Linked DNA regions of Homo sapiens: region 2 is linked to region 1. The links are contacts of gene promoters, found by promoter capture Hi-C in blood cells and fetal thymus (Javierre and others, 2016). All regions are on one chromosome and are shown on one strand. The core of a region is centred on a gene start or on the middle of the fragment in contact, and the rest is flanking DNA. Distances in the headings are between cores, read along the strand shown.

Region 1 (5,255 bases), core at 1,169-3,668:
GAGGAGGAGGTAACTTCAGTCAAGAAGCTAAAGGAACACACACGTTGAAGGGAACATGGGAAAACTGGCTGTGAGCTTCCACATTCTGGGGCATTCTGCCAAACATTTGGAGGGCCTAACCATATTTCTTGGGAGTCTCATTTGGCAGACCGTGGAGACCAGGTCTCTAAATGGATGCTTTACCTTTAAACATGACAGTTTGGTTCAAATATAATGAGCCAAGAATTACACACAAAGCTGCCATTCTTTATATTGTGTCTAAATTGTCTTGATTTTTAACTCTACACTATATATATTCCAAAAACAAAACTAAAATGAATAGGCAGGAGTTAGATGGGGTGAGTGATGGGTGATGGGTGTGTGGTTAATAATAGGAATATTTACTGTCATCTGCAAGAACATCTGGGACACCTCCTCCTTTTCCACATGAGGAATCAGGGATCCAGGGCCAAATTTCACTTTATCTTTCTTTTAGAAAGGGCTGTACCTGCTGCATGTATGTTTTAATTAAGAAAACTGAATATACAGAAATTCCAGATTTCAGAAGCAATGCTTTGATGTTCATTTGCAGTAGCTATGGATGGATTCATGAAAACAGGGGCTTCCTCAGAATCCCCTTGCACATCTATCAGCCACTCTAGTGTATACTATTGACTCACCAGTTTTGCAAAGCAAGGCACGCCTCCAATTCTGTTCTTCCCCTAATCCATTCCCACAAATAATAAAATGATTGACTGCTCAGCGTTAATCTTTCTATGAAACTTTACAGAGTAATCCTATCATTTGCCTGTTATACAGAAATCAGCTGAAAAGCATTAAGAATATTAGCGTGTTTTTCCTCCATGAAATTGCTAGAGCACAACAAACAGAGCCCCTTCTCCTGCCTCCTTTTCTCTAACAACCCCCAACAGAACACCCTACACCCAGATTCCTCTCTTTCCATGGTGAGGCTGATGGAGGCTTAGAAGGACACTTGGTATGCCCGCTCCCTCTTCCCTTTTTTATCAGTCAAAATACCAGTGAAACGGAAGTCAATACTTATTTGATTCATGGTTTTTTTTCCTTTTTAAAGCACGAATAACATTTCTTTCAAAATAAATATACAGTTCTATAAAAAAATATAAGAAGGTACTATAATTCTTGGTCACTGTCCAGCAGAAACATGTTTGATTGCTTTTAGAGTCAGAAGTCAACACCATCCACAAAAATACATTCTTTTAGCCAGGTTTTAGAACACTTTGAAACATAGAAAATTCCTTATTCTACAAACAAGTCCTTTTAGAGATATTCTAAATATGCCAGTGATGAATGTCTAATTCATATGCAGGATTCAAGGCTATTGAGGTGAGCTAGACTAAGAATACCAAGAACACAAAATTGTATTGATACACAAACAGTATGTAAATTACTTTGTCAGATTACAAAAATGCATCAGATTTTATCTATGGTTTTCATAGATAAACATAAAGCAATAAGTTAGTTGCTTTAAAAAAATATATAGCTCAGGTGTTTCTCTTCATTCAAGTGTGAAAGGCACAGCAGTCCCGAGTCTTAGGGGCACCCACCGCAGCCACATCACCGCGCTGGGACAGATGCAGTCCGCAGCGTTCCCAGTATTTTGTCCCAGTGTGTAAAGTACGGAGCGAAGTTGCAGTTAAAGTGAGAGTGATGCAGGTCGTGGTGCACCACACCCCCGTACCACCCGAAGGGCACCAGTCTGTGAGTGGACCAAGGGAAGTTGTAGCCGGAGTGGTCCTCCACGGAAAGCCAGATGTTGACCACGTGGAAGGTCAGGGTGGTGAGCGGGTGGCACCCGAGCAGTGTGACGTTCATCATGTCGAAGAAGCCCAAAGAAAACAGTTCCCAGACGCTCATATACTGCGTTGCCAGCGCGAACGAGGACGAGTTCTGGTGGTGCACCTTGTGGAAGGTGCGGTACAGCCAGGGCACCTTGTGGTGCAGCAGGTGCCACACGAAGAACTCCATGTCGAAGAGTAGCAGGCAGAACAGGATGTGGTGCAGCAGCAGGAGCAGCTCGGGAGCTTCGTGGGGCAGGAGGGCCGGGCTGCGGGCCCAATGCAGCAGCGTCACGGGGAACACAAACATCACATGCTGGTAGAGGGTCTGCCCCAGGCAAGGTAGCAGCTGCTGCGCGGATGGCGAGAAGTCAGGGTGGATCTTGTAGCGCCGCAGGGCGGGCACCCAGGAGCACAGGATATCCAGGACCACGAAGGGCAGGCAAAAGCCCACGTATGTGGTGATGGAGAAGATGACCGGGAAGAAGGGCGACTGTAGGAGGGCCTCCCAGCTCCTCAGGTGGTCCCAGAGGGGCTGCAGGAACAGCTGCCCGGAGCTGCAAAGGACCTGGGGGTCGGAGCAGTTGTGGCAGCTCATTGCGAGGCTGTGCAAGGCAGCTGAGGCTGCTGCTCGAGTCCCATCGACTTTTCACAGGACTCACGGCCCCGCCCCGAGTGATGTCAGCTGCCTTTCCATCCCTTTCCCGGCGATGCGAAGCTTGAATAAGCTAGCAACCCGGCAGAGTGGCCCTTCATTGCTGTAAATGTGCTCATCTATAGCCGCATCTTACCGGCTTTTAGATATGCGTGTATGCAGTGGCACTTCGTACTTTTCATGTAAGTTCTGATTTTTCAGTTGACGTACAATTAACACGGGACACAATGTACAGATCTACCGTGTGGAGTTTCTATGAGTTTGGCAACTCAGTTCACGTGTGTCATCACGGGTCTCAAACTAGACCGTTTACATTGCCACCAGAAAGCGCTCCTTTGCAATCAATGCAGAATTGTTTGTGTTTTTTAATGCATACGTATAACTGCATCCATGTGCTTTCATAAAGACGCAAGCATAATCGCATTTTAAAAACTGTTTAAAGCTACATGCGGTCTGTAGCTCGGGTGTTTTCTGAGAACCCGGTTGCGGTCTATCCAGCGGCGATCGAGAAACGAGCCCTTTGCACAGGGAACCGCTGGTCCCCGAACGCCGGCGGTGACCGTCAGCTCAGGAAATCAGACGGGAAGGGTGGCCGGATGGGAACCTCCGCCAGCTCCAGCTTGTCCCCAGAGTTTTCCTGGCCGGCGGGCAGCAAGCTAGAGAGACCACGCACGCAGGCTCTCCGGGAGAGGCCGCAGCCCGGCCGCGTAGCTACCCTCGGCGGCGCGTCCCGGGGCGCCGGGCCCGCGATCGGAGCCGGAGGCACCGCACAGCGGAAAGAGGGCTCCGCGGCGGCCAGGCTCAGCTTTGCCGGGAAAATGCTGGATTTAACTCCCAGTCTGCGCCAATCTGGCTAAAAAGCCCGTTGTATCTCAATTTGGGGCGGGAACACTTAATTCAGCAAACCACCTGCGTTGTTCGTCAAGGGAAAGAGATGTGAGTTCCTGAAGCCTCCCGGGAGGCTATTGAAGGACCAGGTGATGTCGTCACTACCCTACCCTTCCCCTTGTTGGCTTTGCGGGGCCAACTTGCAGTCGCCCTCTGCCACCGGTCCTTGAATCCACTCCGGGCCCACGGAGCCCGGCTAGGGGGCTAGTCTCTATCCCCTGCGTTTCTCCGCCACCCATCTGGGGTCCTCGGGCCAGGGGCCACCGAGCACAAGGAGGTCGGTACTAGGAGAGCTCTTGAGAGACCCTGGGAACAGCACAAAAATCCTCGCGTTCAACCCGGGGTCTGACACATGACACGATACAAGGGCCCCTTAGGGGATAGACGTTTTAGACACCAGCTTTGAAGCCAGGGAGCACTCCTAATTCTTGCTTAGTGTCTTGTATCTATGTGGTTGTGTCCAGCCCTTTACTCCTTGAAGCTTGCATTTTCTTATCCCCCCGATTCCCCACAAAGGGAAATTGGAGTATTAAATGGAAAAATAATAAGTCTACCGTGTAAAGCCCACCTACTAGGTGCCACGCATTGGCTAAATGTTTTATCTGAATTGATTTTATCCAATCCTCAAAAAAGCTGGCTTCCTCACCCTGCCAAGAAGTAGGATTATTATTATTGCTGTGGGTTTACAGCAGTAAAATCATAGGTCCTAGCACACAGCAAACACACCAAGTAATATGCATGGTATTTTAAATTTGTACTCCACACGTTACCTAAAGAATAACTGAGAAATTTGAAATTAAAATCAAGTAAGATTATGTAAAGAGAAATAAAAGATATAACGCCATCTATTATGAGGAAAGAACAAGTACTACAAAAATATGGACCAATATATGGGCCTAAAACTAAGATCATATATGGTATATATGCATACATATGATATATATAATATGCCAATTCATAATATGTAATATATAAGATATAGATACATATAATAGGCCAATTTGTAATTCAGAATCTCCTAACTGGTGTGTGTCCACTAACTGCCACTGATGGAATACTGACATTCCTTAGATGCTCATTCCCAGGAGCCCTCAGCAGTAGCCTCTAGCCCTACAGCAGCCTTTTTATTTAACCCAGGGTACTATGAAAACATTATTATATTCTGCTGACATATTTGCTGTTGATGAGATAAAGGTTCAGAAGCAGTGTTGAGTTTCTTGACAGCCAATACAAAAAGGGAACAAGGGTGAATTTTTCTAATGCTGCTGCTTTGATTTCTAGATGATAGCAGAAAATAGGTATAATGTAGGCCCCTAGTTGCTTCCAGTTAAACAACCTGTCCTTCCAAGGCTCTCCACCTCTACCGCCCATGCGCCCCCACCCCCCACAACATCTCCTCCCTTCCCCAGTGTTGTTTTCACTTCACTTTTAGGGTAAACCAGAAACTTTTCTTCTCATTCCGGCTAGACGTGGTCTTGTCCTTGATGCAGTGTTTCAGAGAAGAGCGTCCTTCTCACTGCTCCAAACGGACCATTAGAGCTCACTTTCTCAACATTAAAATTGGATTTCTGCTCATAAGTAAAATATCACTCAAATTTACCCTCAACAGAAGTTAGCCCTCAAATTTCCTTTCAGCACACATTGTCCTTTTCTTGTGGTCTCAGTTATCATGCTTGGGTGCTCTGGTTGCGAGAGCAAGAAAGATTTTTTTTTTAAGTGAGTGGCATTAGCAGGTTTGCTTAATTTGGATTTAGCTGCTAGATTTGCTGTCAAGACTGTCTCCTTTGAGTCCCCAGCCCCAACCAACCCATTCATTTTCTGCTTTGGTGTATCCACCGTCTATCGCTGTTAGAATAATGTCCATGTGCCAATTACAGAAGGCCGTGGGCAGCAAAACTTGAGAGCGCTGGCTTCAG
Region 2 (5,255 bases), core at 1,639-4,138, 300 kb before region 1:
AAAAGGCCCCTATATCTCAGAATTACTGTGTAATCAAAATATTTGAATTCTCTTGTATTATTAGTTGTATGATAATTTGTAATTCACTTATTCTTCCTGGGCCTTAGTTCCTCATCTACAAATGAAAGATTTATGGGAGAAAATCTCTGAGGTCCCCTCTGCTCTAAATGTCTTTGAATTTATTCTATTTATAAAGGCTTAGATAGCTAACAACTTTTAAAGCTTCTTTAAGCCTTAATTTTCTCATTTAAAATGGGAATTATGCTAACATTTCTGTCTAACCTATAACCTTGTGATCAGATGAAATTAAATGATGAGTATATGTGTGTATGATTTGATTTACAGAATCAGTAAGTATAAGGCATATTGTTTGATCAGAAATAGCATTTACAGCTCATTATGATTTATCAAGGAAGGGTTATTCATTCATTTTGCAAATATTTATTGAGCACTTATTATGAGCTGGATGCTATTCTTCAGGCTGAGGATACATCAGTGCATAAAAAAGAGAATTCCCTGCCTTTGTGGTAGCAGTTTCTTCACTTTACCTGGAAGCGATGCACCTGGTTTGCTGTAGGAATTTCCTTTCACTGCTGCTGTCTCTTGTTCCTCAAACGGTGACGAAAAATAATGAATTCCTAATTAGCAACTCCTAATTCACTAGGGATTCTGGTTGTCACTTTTCTTAGTTATGAGTTTTCGGTTAAGAGTTTTTTGATACACGATGGCGCTGCTGATTCATCAGTGGTCGTTTGAGTTTTTTTCAAGAGTGAGAAGGGATTTACATCACTCTTTCCATGCTCTGATATTTTTATGTGATTCTCTCTGTTGCCAGCAGTATGCTAAAGTAAGGTGGTGCTCTTTTGGGGCTAAGCATGCAGTACCTGAGAAAGATCAAAGTGACTTGAACTGTTTGGAAAGTACCCTGACCTTAATCTTGTTAGCTTTGGTGCTTAGTTGGTTGAGCTTAACCATTAATACCAAAATAATACTCATGCCAGACTTTAGTGAAAAGGCAGATGGCAAGACTGAAGGTAAATGAATAAGTTATTAAACATGTCATTTTTGAAAAAGGATCCTCATTCCCTTATTAGAAAGCATTATTGAACTTTTGCTGTCACATAATGCTAAGGACATGTTTTCTCTTCCTTAGCTTATTTGTAGAAAAGCTTCCTAACCATCGAGATTACCAGCAATGTGCAGTACCTGAAAAGCAGGATATTATGAAGGTATTGTGGGTTTTCTTCTCCACTGTGGAATCAAATGCTCCATAAGTATCCATTATTGATTCACCCTTCCCCTTCCTCCCCTTTCTCTTTCTCTTGAGAGTTTGAGCGCAAGAAATTCATTCCATTAACTATGATGTTTCGATTTTTTCTTAGACATTTAATGATCATCACTGAGCCAGTGTGGTTTGTCTAATTGATGCTGGGGGAAAAGAAAGAAATACGTTACCTAATAGTGTGAGGAAGGAATTATTTTACAATAATCTCTCCCAGAGGTTAAGAGAATGTTGTGTATTTCTGCGAACTTCTTTCAGATGGTCATTTTGGCTGCTTTTGATTATTTTATACAGCCCTGAACTCAATAACTGTTTGAAAATTAGTGTTAGTTATTAAGGCAGCCACAAAGTTCTAGCTATTTACATCTTATAGGACTGGAATTATAGATTAGAAAGTGTTGTGGGGGAAGCAGGAGGTGGTAGACTAAAATACTATAAAGGAAAAAGAGTGTTGCAATTTATCATCAATTTTTTAATGATTTATCACCAATAATTGCTATATCTATAATTTTGGTTATGTCTAGCTGTGAATATATTCTTTTAAATAAACATTTACAATGTTTCCCATTTATTTGTCTTTAATAGTTTGTGTTGGTCTTATATGAAGGAAGATAAAATCATGTACACAAAGCCAATTGTAGCATGAAATTTTAAATAATTTTTGAAAAACACTTTACCAAATAATGAAATAAAGGCTTTCCTATGAGTATTTTCAGACCTGAGGATGCATAAGCAAAATGCAGATTTTGTCAAATGGTCATCTACATTATTTATTTATTTATTTATTTAGAGTCAGAGTCTTGCTCTGTCACCTAGGCTGGAGTGAAGTGGCGCAATCTCGGCTCACTGCAACCCCCGCCTCCTGGGTTCAAGCAATTCTCTGCCTCAGCTTCCTGAGTAGCTGGGATTACAGGCACCTGCCACCATGCCCAGCTAATTTTTGTATTTTTAATAGAGATGGGGTTTCACCATGTTGGCCAGGCTGGTCTTGAACTCCTGACCTCAAGTGATCCACCTGCCTCTGCCTCCCAAAGTGTTAGGATTACAGGTGTGAGCCACCGCACCCAGCCAACTTTTTTAATGTCTACAGTCACTTACCTGAAGTATCATTTATTATCATGTCTTTGTGTAACATTTCCCCTCAGTTCTCTTGTTCATTCAACCTCAGAGAGTTCTGTTTGGAAACCAAAGGTACCAGGCTGTCACGGTGACTCATGTACTATAACTTAGGGTTATGCTTATTTTTTTTGTAGGAGAAAAATTCTCCAAAACCATATACATTTCCCTTGTTTATGCTTATTGAATAGATATATGAATAAATACATAAATGAATGACAAAGGATTAAGAGAATAGAAATTTGGTGAAAGAGCTAGAGTCAGGAGACTTGAGTTCCAGTCCTAAATGGGCCGCTAGCTGGTTGCATAATACCGAACAGGACTTTCAGTCTCTCCAGGCCTTTGTATCCTCAACTCTAAAAAAGAAGAGGTAGTTGGACTATATAAGAATTCCCAGATTTTCCTGCCATTAACGATCTCTGAGGAAGCTGTTTGAGATCCAGATTCCCAGACCCCTTCTCTACAGGTGTTAATTCAGTAGATCCAGATTAGGCTTGGGGGGGTCTGTATTTTTATAAAAAGTGCCTCAGCTATTCTTTTTACAGTCTAGCATGTCTGGAAATCCCTATCCACCATATATTCTCTCACATCCCTTCTAATTCTGATGCTACATGATTTATGTACTATAGAACAAGTCATTGATCTCAAACTCACTGCCTAAAAATGGGGTACCACAAAGGTAGCCACAAAGTTCTAGCTATTTACATTTTATAGCATTGGGCTATAACAAAATGCTTATCCAATCAGTGGGGCCAATAAAGGTCTTACAAAAGGGATAATAGTGTTTCTTTCCTGCTGGAAAGTTATATTTTGGACCCATAAAAAAGAGATTTATTTTTCTGCCATCATCTTTGGTTACTCATGACTTTATTTGCAGTATACCTACCAGCTGTTTTTCTTTCTCACCTGATGATCTGAAAGAGTGTATTGAAAATCCCACTAATCAATATGTATATATATTTTTAAAAGAAACTGAAGGAGATTGCATTCCCAAGGACAGATGAATTGAAAAACGACCTTTTAAAGAAATATAACGTAGAATACCAAGAATATTTGCAAAGCAAAGTAAGTTCAGTTGGTACATTTATTTCATGACTATTTTATGTACAAGTATTTTTTGAATTTCATTTTTATGTGATGAGTTTTTCAAATGTTTTGTGCATTTAAATTAAAAATTAAAGATGCAGTGATATGGAACCAATAAAAAATTTATGCTGATATCCAGGTTAAGCAGTTTCACCAACAATGTGGTATTTCTATTTCCCTACAATATCTAACAAAGCAATGTGTTAGAAAACAGATTTCCTGCAGCGATTTAAGTAGAACTTTTTGATTAACTCTTGAGCCAGATAACCTTGAGCCAGATGGCTGCTCTTTTGCCAGATGAACAGCCAGTAGGAGGTAGGGAGAGCAGTATATGGTTTCTGATGTGCCTAATGATGTAGGCCTTAGAAATGTGAATTTGATTCTTAGAATGTTACAGTCAGTATTGCATTGAGATAGAATAACAGCTAACCTTGTGGTTGAAATGTAATCATATCACCCAAAAGTGGTGGCTTCTGGATTGTTATTAATAAAGAGTGAACATTATGATAATGTCTGAGAGGCAGAAAGGCATTGGAAGAAGAAATTGGCCAGTGAATGTATGGGATACTCACGTTCAACATAGCATCATTATAGATGTTATTTTGCTTTTTTGTTTGTGTTTTATTTGCTTTAGGGGTTACCACCTTCACTGACTCTCACTTCAGTTCAATCTCATCATCTCTGAGAATGCTCATTGAGCTTTTTGACTTTCTATGGGCATAGGTGGAAGGCTGGCTTGAGTGGAGAGTTTTAACGAAGTGGTAGAGGGAATGGTGAAATTGGAAATGTCCCTCAAGTGTGTATATTAATAATGTGACTTGAAATATGAAAGATAGAAATTTTCTTGGAGGGTAAGACAAAGCAACAACAGCAAGGGAGACGAAAGCCCAGTTCAAGTCTCCTTTCCACGGTCAGCAATGTGTATGATCTTCCTCTTCATGATCTTCCTGGGAGGAACAGGCTCTGCAGCTGTTGCATGTTTTGCCTTTGATACCAGTCACTTCATAGCCTACAGTGGTGACCCATGTGGGAATCTCTGTGGGTTTAGAATAGCAGGACTGAGCCTAGGAGAGATAAACAGCAATGCCTGTGAGCCCTTGCTTCACCAGCATTAGCATCATTTGGAAGCTTGTTAGACACGCAGAATCTCAGGCCCCACCCCAGACCTGCTGAATCAGGATTTGCAACTGCAATTAGCCCCAGGATGATTTGTATGCACCTGAATGTGCCACTATAAGCTGTGTCCCCCATGCTACCGCCATCTTACAGTAGCTCCCAAATCTAGTTTCTATCAAAATCACCTGAAAGGCTCATTAATATTTCATATTATCTGACCTAATAAGCCTGGATATTTTGTTAGAACTGGAGAGCTTGGGACTCCTCCTTTTTAGCAAAACTCTGGGTTAGTGGTGACAGAGAAGGTTGGAACACATTTTAATAACCATTTTTTAGTGATTCCTTCTTATCCATAAATTTCCAGCAGAGTATGAGTTCTAGAGTCAAATGCGAAAGGTTCTAGGGCAGCACTGTTCAATAGAACTCCTGTGATGATGGAAGTGTTCTGTTTGGCACTTTCCAATATGGTATCCACTAGCCACATGTGGCTTCTGGGTACTTAAATGTGACTGACTAGTGTCCCTGAGGTACTGAATTTCTAATTTTGTTTAATTTTAATCAAGTTCAAATAACCACATGTGGCTAGTGGCCACTATATTAGAAGTGCAGTAGGGGTGAGATATTTTGTTTCATATGGTCTTGTTGGTCTGACTGA

The links. The method cuts DNA at HindIII sites, captures the fragments that hold promoters and counts their contacts. A CHiCAGO score of 5 or more calls a contact.
Region 2: a fragment that was not itself captured here is called in contact with the fragment with the promoter of CH25H in region 1 in 1 of 17 cell types (naive CD8 T cells); the score reaches 5.6 in naive CD8 T cells.

What each region holds. Positions count from the first base shown.
Region 1 is chr10:89,204,899-89,210,153 of GRCh38, forward strand. It overlaps CH25H (cholesterol 25-hydroxylase), which reads right to left and starts at 2,419. Exons shown (of 1, transcript NM_003956.4): 1 at 731-2,419. The coding sequence starts at 2,394. The coding sequence ends at 1,576. RefSeq lists an enhancer at 2,191-2,260. The HindIII fragment of the contact is 3,745 bases long and covers 1-2,512 here.
Region 2 is chr10:88,907,549-88,912,803 of GRCh38, forward strand. STAMBPL1 (STAM binding protein like 1) reads left to right here. Exons shown (of 11, transcript NM_020799.4): 4 at 1,154-1,229; 5 at 3,368-3,463. Among named protein-coding and RNA genes, the nearest start is that of ACTA2-AS1, 23 kb to the right of the region's middle. The HindIII fragment of the contact is 3,443 bases long and covers 1,168-4,610 here.